Regions from separate parts of the Homo sapiens genome. Here regions 2 and 3 are each linked to region 1. Evidence: promoter capture Hi-C in human tissues and cell types (Jung and others, 2019). All regions are on one chromosome and are shown on one strand. The core of a region is centred on a gene start or on the middle of the fragment in contact, and the rest is flanking DNA. Distances in the headings are between cores, read along the strand shown. Region 1 holds the start of SBNO1 (strawberry notch homolog 1). Region 2 overlaps RSRC2 (arginine and serine rich coiled-coil 2). Region 3 has its middle 5.4 kb from the start of HIP1R.

Region 1 (4,698 bases), core at 1,223-3,722:
CACGCATGTAATCCCAGCACTTTGGGAGGCTGAGGCGGGCATATCACCTGAGGTCAGGAGTTCGAGACCAGCCTGGCTAACATGGTGAAACGCCGTTTCTACTAAAAATACAAAAAATTAGCCGGGCGTGGTGGTGGGCACCTGTAATCCCAGCTACTCAGGAGGCTGAGGCAGGAGAATCACTTGAACCCAGGAGGCGGAGGTTGCAGTGAGCTGAGATCCCGCCATTGCAACAAACTAGCTTGGGCAACAAGAGTGAAACTATGTCTCAAAAAAAAAAAAAATTAAAAAAATAGTTTCGCTTTGTTACCCAGGCTGGTGCAGTGGCACGATTATAGCTCACTGTAGCCTCAAACTTCTGGGCAATCAAGTGATTCTCCTACCTTAGCCTCCTGAGTAGCTGGGACTATATATCACACTTGGCTAATTAAAAGTTTTTTGTTGGGCCGGGCGCGGTGGCTCACGCCTGTAATCCCAGCACTTTGGGAGGCCGAGATGGGTGGATCACGAGGTCAGGAGATCGAGACCACGGTGAAACCCCGTCTCCACTAAAAATACAAAAAAAAAAAAAAAAAAGTCCTAGCTACTCGGGAGGCTGAGGCAGGACAATGGCGTGAACCCAGGAGGCAGAGGTTGCAGTGAGCCGAGATCGCGCTACTGCACTCCAGCCTGGGCGACCGACAGAGCGAGACCCCGTCTCAAAAAGAAAAATGTTTTTTTGTCGAGATGAGGTTGCACTTTGTTACCCAAGTCTGGTCTCAAACTCCTGGCTGAGATCCCCGTTTCAGCCTCCCAAAGTGTTGGGATTACAGGCGTGAGCCACCACACCTGGCCTGTGCCTAAGGTTTTTTTTGTTTTTTGTTTTTGAGTCGGATTCTCGCTCTGTCGCCCAGGCTGCAGTGCAATGGCACGATCTCGGCTCACTGCAACCTCCGTCTCTTGAGTTCAAGCGATTCTCCTGCCTCAGCCTCCAGAGTAGCTGGGATTACAGGTGCCCGCCACCAAGCCCCAGCTAAATTTTGTATTTTTAGCAGAGATGGGGTTTCACCATGTTGGCCAGGCTGGTCTCGAACTCCTGACCTCAGGTGGTCCGCCCACCTCGGCCTCCCGAAGTGCTGGGATTACAGGCGTGAGCCACTGCGCCCGGCCTAAAATATTTTTTATTTTTGTCTTTATAGGTTTTTTTTCTATGTGTGTGAGAGGATTAAATGAAATAATGTAATTAGTAAAGCGATTAGTTAGCACTTTAAAAATATTTATAAATGTATACATAGATATATAATACATATCTATGTGTACAAACACTGAAGTTTCCTATTCTTTCTGTGCCTACTTTTTCCTTTCTTTCCCCGAATACTTTGTCTCTGGAAGAGTTCACACTGTAACCTCCAACTGTTCCAGCTACTTGGTTTGCTTTCAGCACTAGGCTTGTAGGATGCGCAGCCAGTAGGGGGCAAGAATCACCCAGGCGTGCTTATTACCCAAGCAACGGAGTCAAACAGCACTTTCAGAATGACTTTACAAAAGGGTTACCAACAAGGTAATATGTTTATTGTGTTAGGTCGCTTAATAATAACGAAAAGATGAAAACAAGGAAGTGAGAAGCGGTAGGGACAGCCCTACTCTTCAGTATTCATTAAGTGGGAGCCCCGGTGTGTCGGGCTTGCGTATGAGCGTGAAGACAGACGTGGGATGGCTGAGCTCACACGCCTTAGGCTCTGATTCTAGCCGTGGTCGCGCCGAGGGCTCCGGGTTACTTGCGGTTTCACTGCCAATAAAGTGCTTTGAGCGAGCCTAACAAGCAATGAATATGTAAACATTTTGTTTCTAGGACTAACTAGGTAATGAAGAGATCTTCCAAGTGACAGAAACGCTGCTAGGTAACTTCCTGGGCCGTAGCTCCCCACCCTAACAGGTTCTGAAAATAGCTCCAGGCCCTTCCTAACCGGAGTTTGAAAGCAGGCGCGGGGCGCATGCGCGCGGCCCTCCGGCCGACCTCCCGATAGCCCTGGCACGCGGACCTTCTTCCCGACAGGCCGCGGGGAAAAAAGGGCGGGGAAACGGAATTACCGCGAGCTCTCCGTGAGCGCCGGCGGAAACAGTAGTCACGTGACTCTCCTAGGTGGCCTTCGCCTTCCCCCTCCCCCTTCGCGGAAACCCGGCCCCCTCACCCCTCGCCCACCCCAGAGCCGCGGTAATGGACCGTTTGGGTTCCGGAATTCTCTTGGATCCAACAACTGGTACCGGGCCGAGGATAGCCGGCGGAGTCCGTTTTTGGCGGCGAAGACTGGGGGGTGGTCAAGATGGGGGGGAAATCATCTTCCTTCACCTAGGAGGGAGGCGGGGCGGAGAGGGGCGCAGAGAGGCGGGTGGGGGAGGAGGGAGGAAGTCACGTGAGGGCGCTGCGTGCGCGCGGCGCCTCATCCGTTGCCCCTCCCCCGCCCCTCCCGGCGGGGCGGGGGGGCTGGGGGAGGGGCGTCAAGATGGCGGCGGGGAGGTAGGCAGAGCAGGACGCCGCTGCTGCCGCCGCCACCGCCGCCTCCGCTCCAGTCGCCTCTGGTCCTTCAAACTCACACCTCCCGGGAGGAGCTGTGCTGGCGCCGGGTCCCGCGGGGAAAGTAAGTCCTTCCCTTGGCCCTTTTCTCCTTCCACACTCCCCCTCCCGGACAGCCTCCCACTCCCACCCTCGGGGGGCCGTGCGGGGCCAGGCTGGGGGGACAGCCACCTCGCCCCGGCTTGGGGCCTCCCTCGCCGCTTGCCGCTCCTCGCGGCCGCGCGCTCCGGGGCCCTCGGGGGCATGTTCCCGACGGCGGCTCCGTTGTACTCGCTTCCTCTGTTCGTCAGCGCCGGGCCCCGCTGTCGCCGCTCGTGGGGCTTTCGGGCTCCGGGAGCCCCGCTGTCCCGGGCCGGAGGCACCCCTCTTGGACCGCGGGGCAGGGTCTGTGCACGCCGGCTCCGCTGGGTTCGCCCCTTTGGCTTCCGCCTCACAACCCGGGGGCTGCGGGTCCGGGACCCGCGGGGAAAGTAAGGACCGGATCCTTCCCAAGTCCTCTTTCGTGCCCCAGCATTGCTCCCGGCTCTGGGCGAGGGAGGGAGGCAGGCGACGCGGTCGTCCTTCCTAAATCTGAACCCCACAGCGCGGTCTCGTACATGCCCCGCTCTTGGGGCGGTGGGGAAGCCGCGGGGGACACGTGCAGGCTCCCTTCACGCCTCTCCAGGCGACTCGCTTAGTTCTGCCTCGGCGGGCGAGCTCACCTCCCAGACCCTAAGAATTACCCATGGAGGGGAACGGCAGTTGGGGATTTGCTTACTTTGAGAGCGTTTGGCATAACGAGCATCCAGAGTTCCCCAAAGCAGTGGATACCGGTGGTTTCCCAGAAGTGGTTTGGGGTCGGTTTAACCGCTGAGGAGATTTGGATGTTCCTAAACCCTTCTGATTGTTTCTTTCCTGACCCTGGCATCCAGCTCCTCCCCTTCCCACCCCTGCTTTGTGCTTCTGTTTGGTTAATGTTTGCGGACCACTAACTTGATCCTCGCACAGAGAAGCTCTTTTTATGTGCGTGCTCGGTTTACTGTGGGAGGCTTTTGTTTTGGGGAGTCGCTGGTTGAGAAACGTGGGAAAAGAACGGGCCAGAAAATGAGAGACAAATAAAGCAACGTTTTTATCCATTGAATTGCGCAGCCAATTGTAAGTGCACCCGGAAGTTTGTACTGAACACGTGTTGAGGGAAGGTTATAAACTGGTCCCCTTTGACCTTTGAAAGTTGGCTATTATCATTTTATGTTGAGTTAAATGTTTCATATATTCTAGACAGCCAGAATTAGGGATGGAATATGGTTTCTAAAGAGTCATCCAGAAGGGTGCAGAGAACTGTCATCCGGAGTGCCCTAGCAGGAATTGACTTAACACTTTCAGATAATTCTGCGAGCTGACAGTACAGAGGGATTCTATTTTCCACCATATTTTCTAGCAATCAGAATTGATTTTCATAAGCGTAGGGAAAGCTATCATCGTTGCACAGAAGATAGCAGAATTTCCTACTGGTGACTTGAGTGGGACATTAATTTTGCAAGCAAGGGAACATTTTCTCTCATCTTTTAAAGAAGTTGTTTCCAAAATTTTTCCGATGGGAGACGACTTTACTTTTTTTCTCTGGCTTCTGCTTTTTATCTTCCATTCCAACTTATTCCATATAATTGCGTTTGGAATATTTATGCTATTTTTAAATTTTTGAGACAGGGTCCCACTCTGTTGCTCAAGCTGAAGTGCAGTGACGTGGTCATAGCTCACTGCAGCTTGAACTCCTGGGCTCAAGCGATCGTCCCACTTCAGCCTCCGGAGTAGCTGGGACTACAGATGTGCACCACTACAGCAGCTAATTTTTTTTTTTTTAATTTTTTTGTTGAGAGGCGGGGGTCTCACCATGTTGGGAGGCAGCTACTGGCCTCAAGCAATCTTCTGGCCTCCGCTTCCCGAAGTGGTGGGATTACAGGCATGAGCCATTGTGCCTGGCCCCTTCAGAATCTTTTTTTTTTTTTTTTTTTTTTTTGAGGCGGAGTCTTGCTGTGTTGCCCAGGCTGGAGTGTAGTGGTATGAACTCGGCTCACTGCAACCTCTGCCTTCAGGGTTCAAACAATTCTCCTGCCTCAGTCTCCCTAGTAGCTGGGATTGCAGGCATGTGCCACCACACCTGGCTA
Region 2 (4,698 bases), core at 589-3,088, 840 kb after region 1:
AATAGAAGGCTGTTTTGCAGTTAACGTTTATGTGTACACATAGATTAGTACTAAATTAAAGCTTAGAAAATTTCAGAGCAATTTTAATACTCAGTTTTTGGTAGGTTTTTTTCCTGGATACCTGTATTATGCTACTATAAAATATCCTCAGGGAAATAAAAGTTTTCCATGGCCTCAATGACCACCTATCATTCCTATTTGTTTAGTGTTAAGATGGTTTTTGTTGTTGCTCTGTAGTATATTTTACAGATGAAAATGGTTGATGATGTAAGTTTAAGTTAGCCTATGTCACAGGGAGGTTTCTCTGTTGTCCAGCTTTGTGATGTTAAGCATGAAGTTAAAGTTAGATAAACCATTGCCTGAAAACTGCCTAGGCTAAGCACTAGATTTTCCATGAGAAGGTTGTTTTCGATTCTAGTCTTGTTCTCTGCAAAAGTAAATGGGATTTGCCACTAGTTAAGGAATTCTGTCTCTGGCAAAAGTGTCGTGCAACTGAGAGAAGTAATAGCGGTGCTTAAAATTTTCGAGATCACTTCTGTTTACCAAGTGTAAGCTGTACAAACACTCAGCAAGTAATAAATGAGTCTGAAATAGTCCTCAAGGATAACGATGAAAAAAAAAAGTGTCCAGAATTCATTGTGAAAAATCAGAATCATCCTTAATGATACAGCATTATTTATTAGTAGTAAACAGTAAAGATACGGAGATGCAGTATCATTTTAAGCAAGTCAGCTAATGTTGCTGGATCTCATCTGTGAAACGAGAAAGTTGAACTCTATTCTAAGGGGTGAAAACCTTTCAGCATAAAAATTTTATGGTTCCAGAAGTCACCCAGACTGGAGAAATAAGTACATATACAATATGCTGGCATGAGAGCCTCCCTGGTAGTTAATTTCTTACTGTTCTTTTTGTGCCATTGTTAGAGGAATAACACGTAATTTATGTCTTTCATCTCATAATTGAACTGCAAAACCTTTCTGTTTTTAATTTATCATTTTATTCCCTAAGTCTAGCATTGGTTTTGGCACATTTTTGACCCTTAGTAAATACTTGTTGAAGTAACTCGACCTCTCACAACTTCATTTATTAAAGTACAATACACCCATTTATTGTACTTGATACTTGTTTAAAATTTGTTAAAATACAATACCCCCATTTATTGTACTTGATATTTGGTATTCATTTTCTGGACTAACTTTCCTAAAGGAGGAAGTTCTCTAATGTGATTCCTCCTGCTGAAGACTATCGATTCCCTATTTATTCAATCCAGATTCCGTTTGATGTTATACGTGAAAAGTCCATAAACTGTTTCTGTAAAGGGCCAGACGGTAAATATTTTTGGCTTTGTGGGCCATGTGCAGTCTCTGTCACATTCTTTCCCAGGCTGGAGGGGCAGTGGCGCAATCTTAGCTCACTTCAACGTCTGCCTCATGGGTTCAAGCCATTCTCCTGTCTCAACCTCCTGAGTTGCTGGGATTACAGGCACGCCCCACCACTCTTGGCTAATTTTTGTGTTTTTAGTAGAAGCAGGGTTTTACCATGTTGGCTAGGCTGGTCTCAAACTCCTGACCTCAGGTTATCCGCCTGCCTCAACCTCCCAAAGTGCTAGGATTACAGGCATGAGCCACAACACTGGCGTTTTAAGTGCCTTTAGTTTTAACAGTTCAGTCTTTACAGTGCTATTTACTGAAGTTATTTATTAAATATGCCTAAAATAGTTTTAAAAAACGTAAAAAACCATTCCTAGCTCAAGGCCATACAGAAACAGAATGAGGACCATAGCTTGCCAACCCTTCCTAAGTAATCAATTCCCCAGGTGTATCAATTATTTTATTTTCATGTTATCTTCTCTGGTCAGATAGCCGAGCATTGTCTACCTTCTGCATTAGTTGAAACTTGTAAAATTTATATTGTAATAATTACTTATAAAATGCTTTAAAGCAGAAACAACTTAATGTTTTCATAGCCCAGAGCACATGTGAGGAGAGGCAGACCATATTTTGCAGCAGCACTGTGCCAAGGGGCTGTTTTCATTAAAGAGGGTTAATGACATTAAGATGAGGTTCTCACTTAGGTAAGTTAATTTTCTGTTTATTATTTTATAATATTCTTAGGGCATTGTTTTAAGATTTTATCGTCTTGAGTATCTTTAAGCTTTAACAACTCATTTTTGATGTTTGACATGTATGCTAATTTAAAAGTATTGGTAAAGTCAGCTAAATGCATTCACACATCTAAAAAGGACTATTTTCTCTGCTTGAATGCTTATTAGAACTACTTGGAGCCCTTATTCCTCCCCCACCCCACCCCATGTTTTAAAAGTTATACAAATCATCGTTAGAAAATTAAAGATACATCAGTCTAAATATGTAGGTCTTGCTTTAGTATCAGGTTCGTCATTTCAAGCCATTCAGCCTTATTAGTGTACAAAGCACATTTAGTTACTTGGAAAGCAGGCATTCTGATTTATTGATTGTGGGGGGCTATCTTCCCTCCCTTTGTCCCTCTTTTAAGAAATTGAAAACATTTAAAATGTAATTAAGAACTTTAATCATTTGTTTTTAAACTTTTAGGCTAGTGATACAGAGCGAGATGGACTAGCCCCAGAAAAGACATCACCAGATAGAGATAAGAAAAAAGAGCAGTCAGAAGTATCTGTTTCTCCTAGAGCTTCAAAACATCATTATTCAAGATCACGATCAAGGTCAAGAGAAAGAAAACGAAAGTCAGGTATGAATTCTTAAAGGTGGTTACAACTCTCAGCATTTGTATAAGATATGTAGACCTGTTGTATAAGAAGACACATACATTTAGTTTGTTGGCTGGGCATGGTGGCTCAAGCCTGTAATGCCAGCACTTTGGGAGGCCAAGGCAGGCAGATCACCTGAGCCAGGACCAAAAATACAAAAATTGACACACTCTCAGCCCAATGCAACCTCCATCTGCTGGGTTCAGGCAGTTCTTCTGCCTCAGCCTCCTGAGTAGCTGGGATTATAGGCGTGCGCCACCACGCCTAGCTTATTTTTGTATTTTTAGTAGAGACTGGGTTTCACCATGTTGGAACATATCAAATATAATTCAACCTGTTTATTTTCTTTAGTTTTTATTTTTCTTAATGGCTTACCTCTCTCTATTAAACCCCCTTATGAATTTGCTGTAGACTAGGAAACTAGATGGGCTGGTCAGAATATATGTAAAATACTGAAAGTCTATGACCGTTTAAAAGATGTATCTAGGCTGCTTTATGTCCTGGTTTGCTCAGATTGCTTGATTTGTTTCACATGTGTGTTGTATTAATGTAGAATAATCCCACCCGTGCCATGAAAAAATTAGTCATTGGAAGAAGACTAATGGGAGTCATTTTTCTCCAGCATTAAGAGTTTTTTAAGATGAAATGTTTCTCCAACTTTGTTTATGGTGATTATTTTTTTTGTGTATTCACAGATAATGAAGGAAGAAAACACAGGAGCCGGAGCAGAAGCAAAGAGGTAATTAACACTTTGTAGTGAATAGGTACTTTAAAATACTTATAAAGTGTCTGGTAGAAAGATTTGTATGAATATAAGACGTTGTCAAGGTAAGTACAAAACTTGAAATTTAAAAGGTTTATTGGGTTATAAAATAAGCATGATTTTGATTCATCATTTTTGAAGAAGATGTTTATGTGAAAAGTACCTTCAAAACTTTAATTTTATTATATTGTGAAAATATTCACAATAAAAATTTCATATGAAGAATATGATTGGTTTTTTTAGGCCTGTCACACAGAGCTTCCATTAATCTGAGGTCCCGAGTCTCCTGGTGCCTGACAGTTGCTCAGGATTTTTAAACAGCAATCATCTTTACATAGCAATACCCTAGATATCTGTGCGCTGCTTTTTCCTTATGAACGATAACAGGAGTTCTCTTTTCTTTTGCAAACTAGTTCAGTTTCCCTAATAGTAGTATTGAATTTTGAAATAAAGGTTTGAGTGAGGGACAGCTGAAAAGGTGGCGGTGACACCAAAACTTGAGGAAAAAGAAAGGCAGCAGCTGTATTGCAAAGGAGTTACTTGTTCACCCACCTGAGAAGACAAAGAATGAGCCAATAAGGAAGTGTAGAAGTAGTAGCCAGAAAGGGAGAAGAGTCTTGTGGGGGCTGGGTAAGGGACTCCTAAAACAAGAGTGGGCAGGGACTTCACCTCTTCCCGTAATGGAAGCTCTGTTAAATTTTTAATTTAGGAGAGTTTTTGTGAAAATGACTATTTTGTTTAGCTCACATGATAACATTTCTATAATAAATCATACTCAGCGTGCTTATGCGCGAAGAGACTGAACTGAAGACGCTGCAGACTCAGATAGCAAAATAATAAGCCTACTTCATGATAAGGTAACTATTAGTCATTCAAACTCCTATTTCCCTTAAATATATCTTAAATCAGTTAAGGGTTTTAATGTTTTTTTTAAATTAATAGTAATGTTATGTTTGAAAAACTGGTTTGAAATAAACTTTAAAACCTTTAGAAGTTTAACCACTTAAGACTTTTCCAGTCTGCCTCGTTATAGCAAAACCAAGGAAAATTTCTTTTCTAAGCTCCTATAGAGAACTGGCAATGAAACTAAAATTTAATTGTGTCTCCAGGTCTCTTATTTTTCTGCAAATAATAAATTATGTACTATGATCATTTTCAGATAAATCATCATGCATGTTCCAAAATG
Region 3 (4,698 bases), core at 1,032-3,531, 530 kb after region 1:
ACCAACAAACAAGCTCAGGTTCAGAGAGTTTAGCCCAGGTTCACACAACTGGTAAACGCTGCATTCGGGATCCAGACCCAGATGTGCCTGATTTCAAGGCCAGTGCCCGCAACACCCATGCCATTTGGACTACATTTTGTGGTCTATGACTTTCAGTACTATACTACCTCAGGCTTGCTGTTTAGGACCTGAGAGCACTCTCCTAACACATCTCTAAGGGATTGTACTTTATGTGCTTGTAGGTAAGATTTTGAGCTATTAGAGGGCCACCCTGTATTACTCAGTTTTATGTACTCAGTGCCTAGCAGGGCACCTGGCACATAGCAATGTTCAATATGTATGTCAAATGAAGGGCTGAAAGAGTGAGTAAACAAATACCTCATTTGGTATACTTCAACATACAGCTGATCTCACGAAAGAGTATCACTGAGGACATAAGGATACAAACTTCCCCAATCTTTTGTTTGTTTGTTTTTGTTTTTGAGACAGGGTTGCCCTCTGTCACCCAGGCTGGAGTGCAGTGGCATGATCTCAGCTCACAGCAACCTTCGCTTCCTGGGTTCCAGCAATTCTCCTGCCTCAGCCTCCTGAGTAGCTGAGATTACAGGCGTGCGCCACCACAGCCTGGCTAATTTTTGTATTTTTTGTAGAGACAGGGTTTCACCATGTTGGTCAAGCTGGTCTTGAACTCCCAACCTCAGGTGATCCACCTGCCTCGACCTCCCAAAGTGTTGGGATTACAGGCGTGAGCCACTGTGCCTGGCCCAAACTTCCCCACTCTTAATTTTTCTGGTTCATCTCTCTAACATCTTCAGGCAGGAGGCCTGGTCTACTATTGTCCCTGTCACTGACTGGCTTTTTTTTTGGCGGGGGGGATACGGGGTCTTGCTTGCTCTGTTACCCCTGCTGGAGTGCAGTGGCTGGATTATGGCTCATTGCAGCCTCAACCTCCTGGGCTCAAATGATCCTCCCACCTCAGCCTCCAGAATAGCTGGGACCACAGGTGTGCACCACCATGCCTGGCTAATTTTTAAATTTTTTGTAGAGACGGGGGTCTCACCACGTTGCCCAGACTGGTCTTGAACTCCTGGACTCAAGCAATCCTCCCACCTTAGCCTCCCAAAGTGCTGGCATTACAGGCAGGAGCCACTGCTCCCGGCCTGAGATTCTTCATGCCATCAGAATCAGGGTTCTGTTTTGGTGTATCTCGAGGGCTGTTGAATTCCTGCTCACCCCTATTACAAAAGCAAAGCAATTGGAATACAAATAAGACCTCGTTTTAAGGAAAATCCAAGATGCACAGGAGAGTTTACATCATCTGGCCCACTAAAACATGGTATGCTACCACACCCACACTGACTCATCGACTCGTATGCATGATCTGGCCCCAGCCTCTGTCCCTGGCTTCATCTTGCACCATCCTGGCCCATCAGGTCCCAGATGCGTCATGTTCCCTCCCACCTCAGAGCCTTTGCACATGCTGTTCCTACTGCCTGGAATTCTCTTCTGCTTCCCGTTCGCCCTACTTAGCATCCACTTGTCTTTAACTCTTGGCTCAGATGTCACTTCTTTAAGGAAGCATTCTCTTAACACTCCACCCTTCACCTGAGTCCCTATTATAAGCTGTCATCATATCTCAAAGCTTTCTTTTGTAGCACTAACCAGTCTCTTGTGAACTATGTATGGGATTCTTAGATTAGTGTGTTTCTACGACTAGATTGTCTGCTTTGCTCATTGTTGTGTCTCCAGTGGCCAGCAAAGCACCTACTGTGTGCTCAAAATTCTTTGATTTTTTGTTGGGTTTCTTTTTGTTGTTGTTGTGGTTGGGTTTCTTAAGCATGCATCTGGCTGAGAACCCAGACATCATCCTTTAAAGAACTGATTCATGTACACTTTTCATTCAATCAACTTCTCTCAAAGACCATTCTGGGTGTTTTTTGTTTGTTTGTTTGTTTGTTTGAGACAGAGTCTGGCTCTGTTGCCCAGGCTGGAGGCATGGCTCAATCTCAGCACACTGCAACCTCTGCCTCCCAGGTTGAAGTGATTCTTGTGCCTCAGCCTCCTGAGTAGCTGGGATTACAGGCACCCACCACCACGCCCAGCTAATTTTTGTATTTTTAGTAGAGAGGTGTTTCGCCATGTTGGCCAGGCTGGTCTCGAACTCCTGATCTCAAATGATGTGCGAGCTTTGGCCTCTCTAAGTGCTGGGATTACACGCGTGGGCCACTGCACCTGGCCCCATTCTGGTTTTTAAACCTCCTTGTCAGCTGCAGTCTTGATGAATGTGTCTGGTTTCTTATTTTGATCCTGTTCACTCTGTTCTCTATCACACTGGAGGTTGCTAAGATTATTCTGTTGAAGGCCTAGAATAATGAACTTTCCTGCAATGTGTCCTAACAAAATCATCATCAAATGGCTCAAGAGAAACAAAAGTACAACACTGCAAACCCACCACCCCAGCTACAGGTGTCAAACCACACAAAGCCACAGGAGAAAACTCCAGGATCAGTTTGCCAGACCATAACAAGGATTCAGTCTTCAGTCTCCTTCCTGGAAGGTATGGAGCCAACCTTATCCCACACAGCCAAGAAGTTCTAGACGCATTCTCTTGGCACTTTTGGGGTAAAGCTGCTTTTAGTGTTTATGTTTTATCTTAATTCAGAACTTTTTTTCTTTGGGGGTATTTCTATTTCTGTTTTTAAATATCTGTTGGCCGGGCGCGGGGGCTCACACCTGTAACCCCAGCACTTTGGGAGGCTGAGGTGGGCGGATCACCTGAGGTCAGGAGTTCGAGACCAGCCTGGCCAACATGGTGAAACCCCGTCTCTACTAAAAATACAAAAATTAGCCTGGCATGGTGGCAGGTGCCTGTAATCCCAGCTATTCGGGAGGCAGAAGAATCTCTTGAATCTGGGAGATGGAGGTTGCAGTGAGCTGACATCGTGCCACCGCACTTCAGCCTGGGTGACAGAGTGAGACTCCATCTAAAGAAAAAAAAATTAGGCATGGTGGCACGTGCCTGGAGTCCTCGCTAATTGGGAGGCTGAAGCAGGAGAATCACTTGAGCCCAAGAGTTTGAGGCTACAGTGAGCTATGATGATACCACTGCCCTCCAGGCTGGGTGACAGAGTGAGACCCTGTCACTAAAAATAAAATTAAAAAAAAAATCCATTCACAGATTCTAAAAATACCCTTATATCAGTCTTTTCCAATGCTGAGATTACTTCTGGCAGGCAGATTGTAGTATAATTCATTTGCCTCCTCTTCAGATGTGTTGATCTTAAGAATGTTGCTGATAAGACATAAATGCTAAAATCTAGTTTTATCTTGTAACTATTTCAAATACTCTATGAGACTGCCTCTGTGCATCCATTAAAGTATAGAAAAAAAAAGGAGACTGCCTCTCTAACAGAAATTGCTCAAAGCTTAGGTCAGGGGTATCTGCACTCCACGTTCACTGCAGCACTGCTCACAACAGCCAAGATGTGGAAGCAACCTAAATGCCCATCAACAGATGAGTGGATAAAGAAATGTGGTGGCTCACGCCTGTAATCCCAGCACTTTGGGAGGCTGAGTTGGGAGGATCACATTAGGCCAGGAGTTCAACACCAGCCTGGCCAACATGACGAAACCCCGTCTCTACTAAAAAAACAAAAAGTTAGCCAGGAGTGGTGGTGGGCACCTGTAATCCTAGCTTCTCAGGAGACTGAGGCAGGAGAATTGCTTGAACTCGGGAGGTGGAGGTTGCAGTGAGCTGGAATTGAGCCACTGCACTCCAGCCTGGGCAACAGAGTGAGACTCGGTCTCAAAAAAAAAAAAGTAGTATATATATACATAATGGAATACTATTTAGCCATAAAAACAAACGAAATCCTGTCATTTAAATGACTCAGTTTGGGCCAGGTGCAGTGGCTTACATCTGTAATCCCAGCACTTTGGGAGGCCGAGAAGGTGGATCACAAGGTCAGAAGTTCAAGACCAGCCTTGCCAATATGGTGAAACCCCGTCTCTACTAAAAATACAAAATTTAGCTGGGCATGGTGGCGCACACCTGTAGTCCCAGCTACTCGGGAGGCTGAGGCAGGAGAATCACTTGAACCTGAAAGGCGGAGGTTGCAGTGAGCTGAGATCACGCCACTGCACTCCAGCCTGGGCGACAGAGAGAGACTCTGTCTCAAAAAAATAAATAAATAAATAAATAAATAAATAAATAACTTCGGTTGAGCTAGATGCATTGCTAACATTAAATTTCTCATTCTTTTTTTTTTTTTTTTTTTTTTTTTGAGACGGGACCTCACTCTGTCACCCAAGCTGGAGTGCAGTGGTACGATCTTGGCTCATTGCAACCTCCACCTCCTGGGTTCAAGCAATTCTCCTGCCTCAGCCTCCCAAGTAGCTGGGATTACAGGCGCGTGACACCATGCCCAGCTAATTTTTTGTATTTTTAGTAGAGAGGGGGTTTTGTCATGTTGGCCAGGCTGGTCTCGAACCTCTGATCTCAAGTGATCCACCTGCCTTAGGCTCCCAAAGTGCTGGAATTACAGGCATAAGCCGCCACACCCAGCTGAAATTTCTCATTGTTGGATTGCATATGGAACGATAAGCTGGTGGGATACAATAGGTGTCAGGTGTCGTAGGTACTATAATCCTATGAGCTAAAATACATTTAGCCATAAAATAATGTTTAATTGTTATCAA

What was found. Contacts are between HindIII fragments. The study calls those that stand out against the background at their distance.
Region 2: a fragment that was not itself captured here is called in contact with the fragment with the promoter of SBNO1 in region 1 in 1 of the 25 tissues and cell types used here (dorsolateral prefrontal cortex).
Region 3: a fragment that was not itself captured here is called in contact with the fragment with the promoter of SBNO1 in region 1 in 1 of the 25 tissues and cell types used here (dorsolateral prefrontal cortex).

Annotation. Positions count from the first base shown.
Region 1 is chr12:123,362,621-123,367,318 of GRCh38, reverse strand. It overlaps SBNO1 (strawberry notch homolog 1), which reads left to right and starts at 2,472. Exons shown (of 32, transcript NM_001167856.3): 1 at 2,472-2,618. It overlaps MIR8072 (microRNA 8072), which reads left to right and starts at 2,476; the gene lies at 2,476-2,555. It overlaps SBNO1-AS1 (SBNO1 antisense RNA 1), which reads right to left and starts at 2,371. Exons shown (of 2, transcript NR_157806.1): 1 at 2,204-2,371; 2 at 1,515-1,794. RefSeq lists enhancers at 1,712-1,921, 3,382-3,431, 3,088-3,806 and silencers at 2,092-2,191, 2,322-2,561, 2,672-2,751, 2,792-2,901. The HindIII fragment of the contact is 18,176 bases long and covers 1-4,698 here.
Region 2 is chr12:122,520,175-122,524,872 of GRCh38, reverse strand. It overlaps RSRC2 (arginine and serine rich coiled-coil 2), which reads left to right. Exons shown (of 10, transcript NM_023012.6): 2 at 2,574-2,730; 3 at 3,445-3,488. Among named protein-coding and RNA genes, the nearest start is that of RSRC2, 4.4 kb to the left of the region's middle. The HindIII fragment of the contact is 5,664 bases long and covers 1-4,670 here.
Region 3 is chr12:122,827,745-122,832,442 of GRCh38, reverse strand. No RefSeq gene overlaps it. Among named protein-coding and RNA genes, the nearest start is that of HIP1R, 5.4 kb to the left of the region's middle. RefSeq lists a silencer at 2,555-2,755. The HindIII fragment of the contact is 4,270 bases long and covers 147-4,416 here.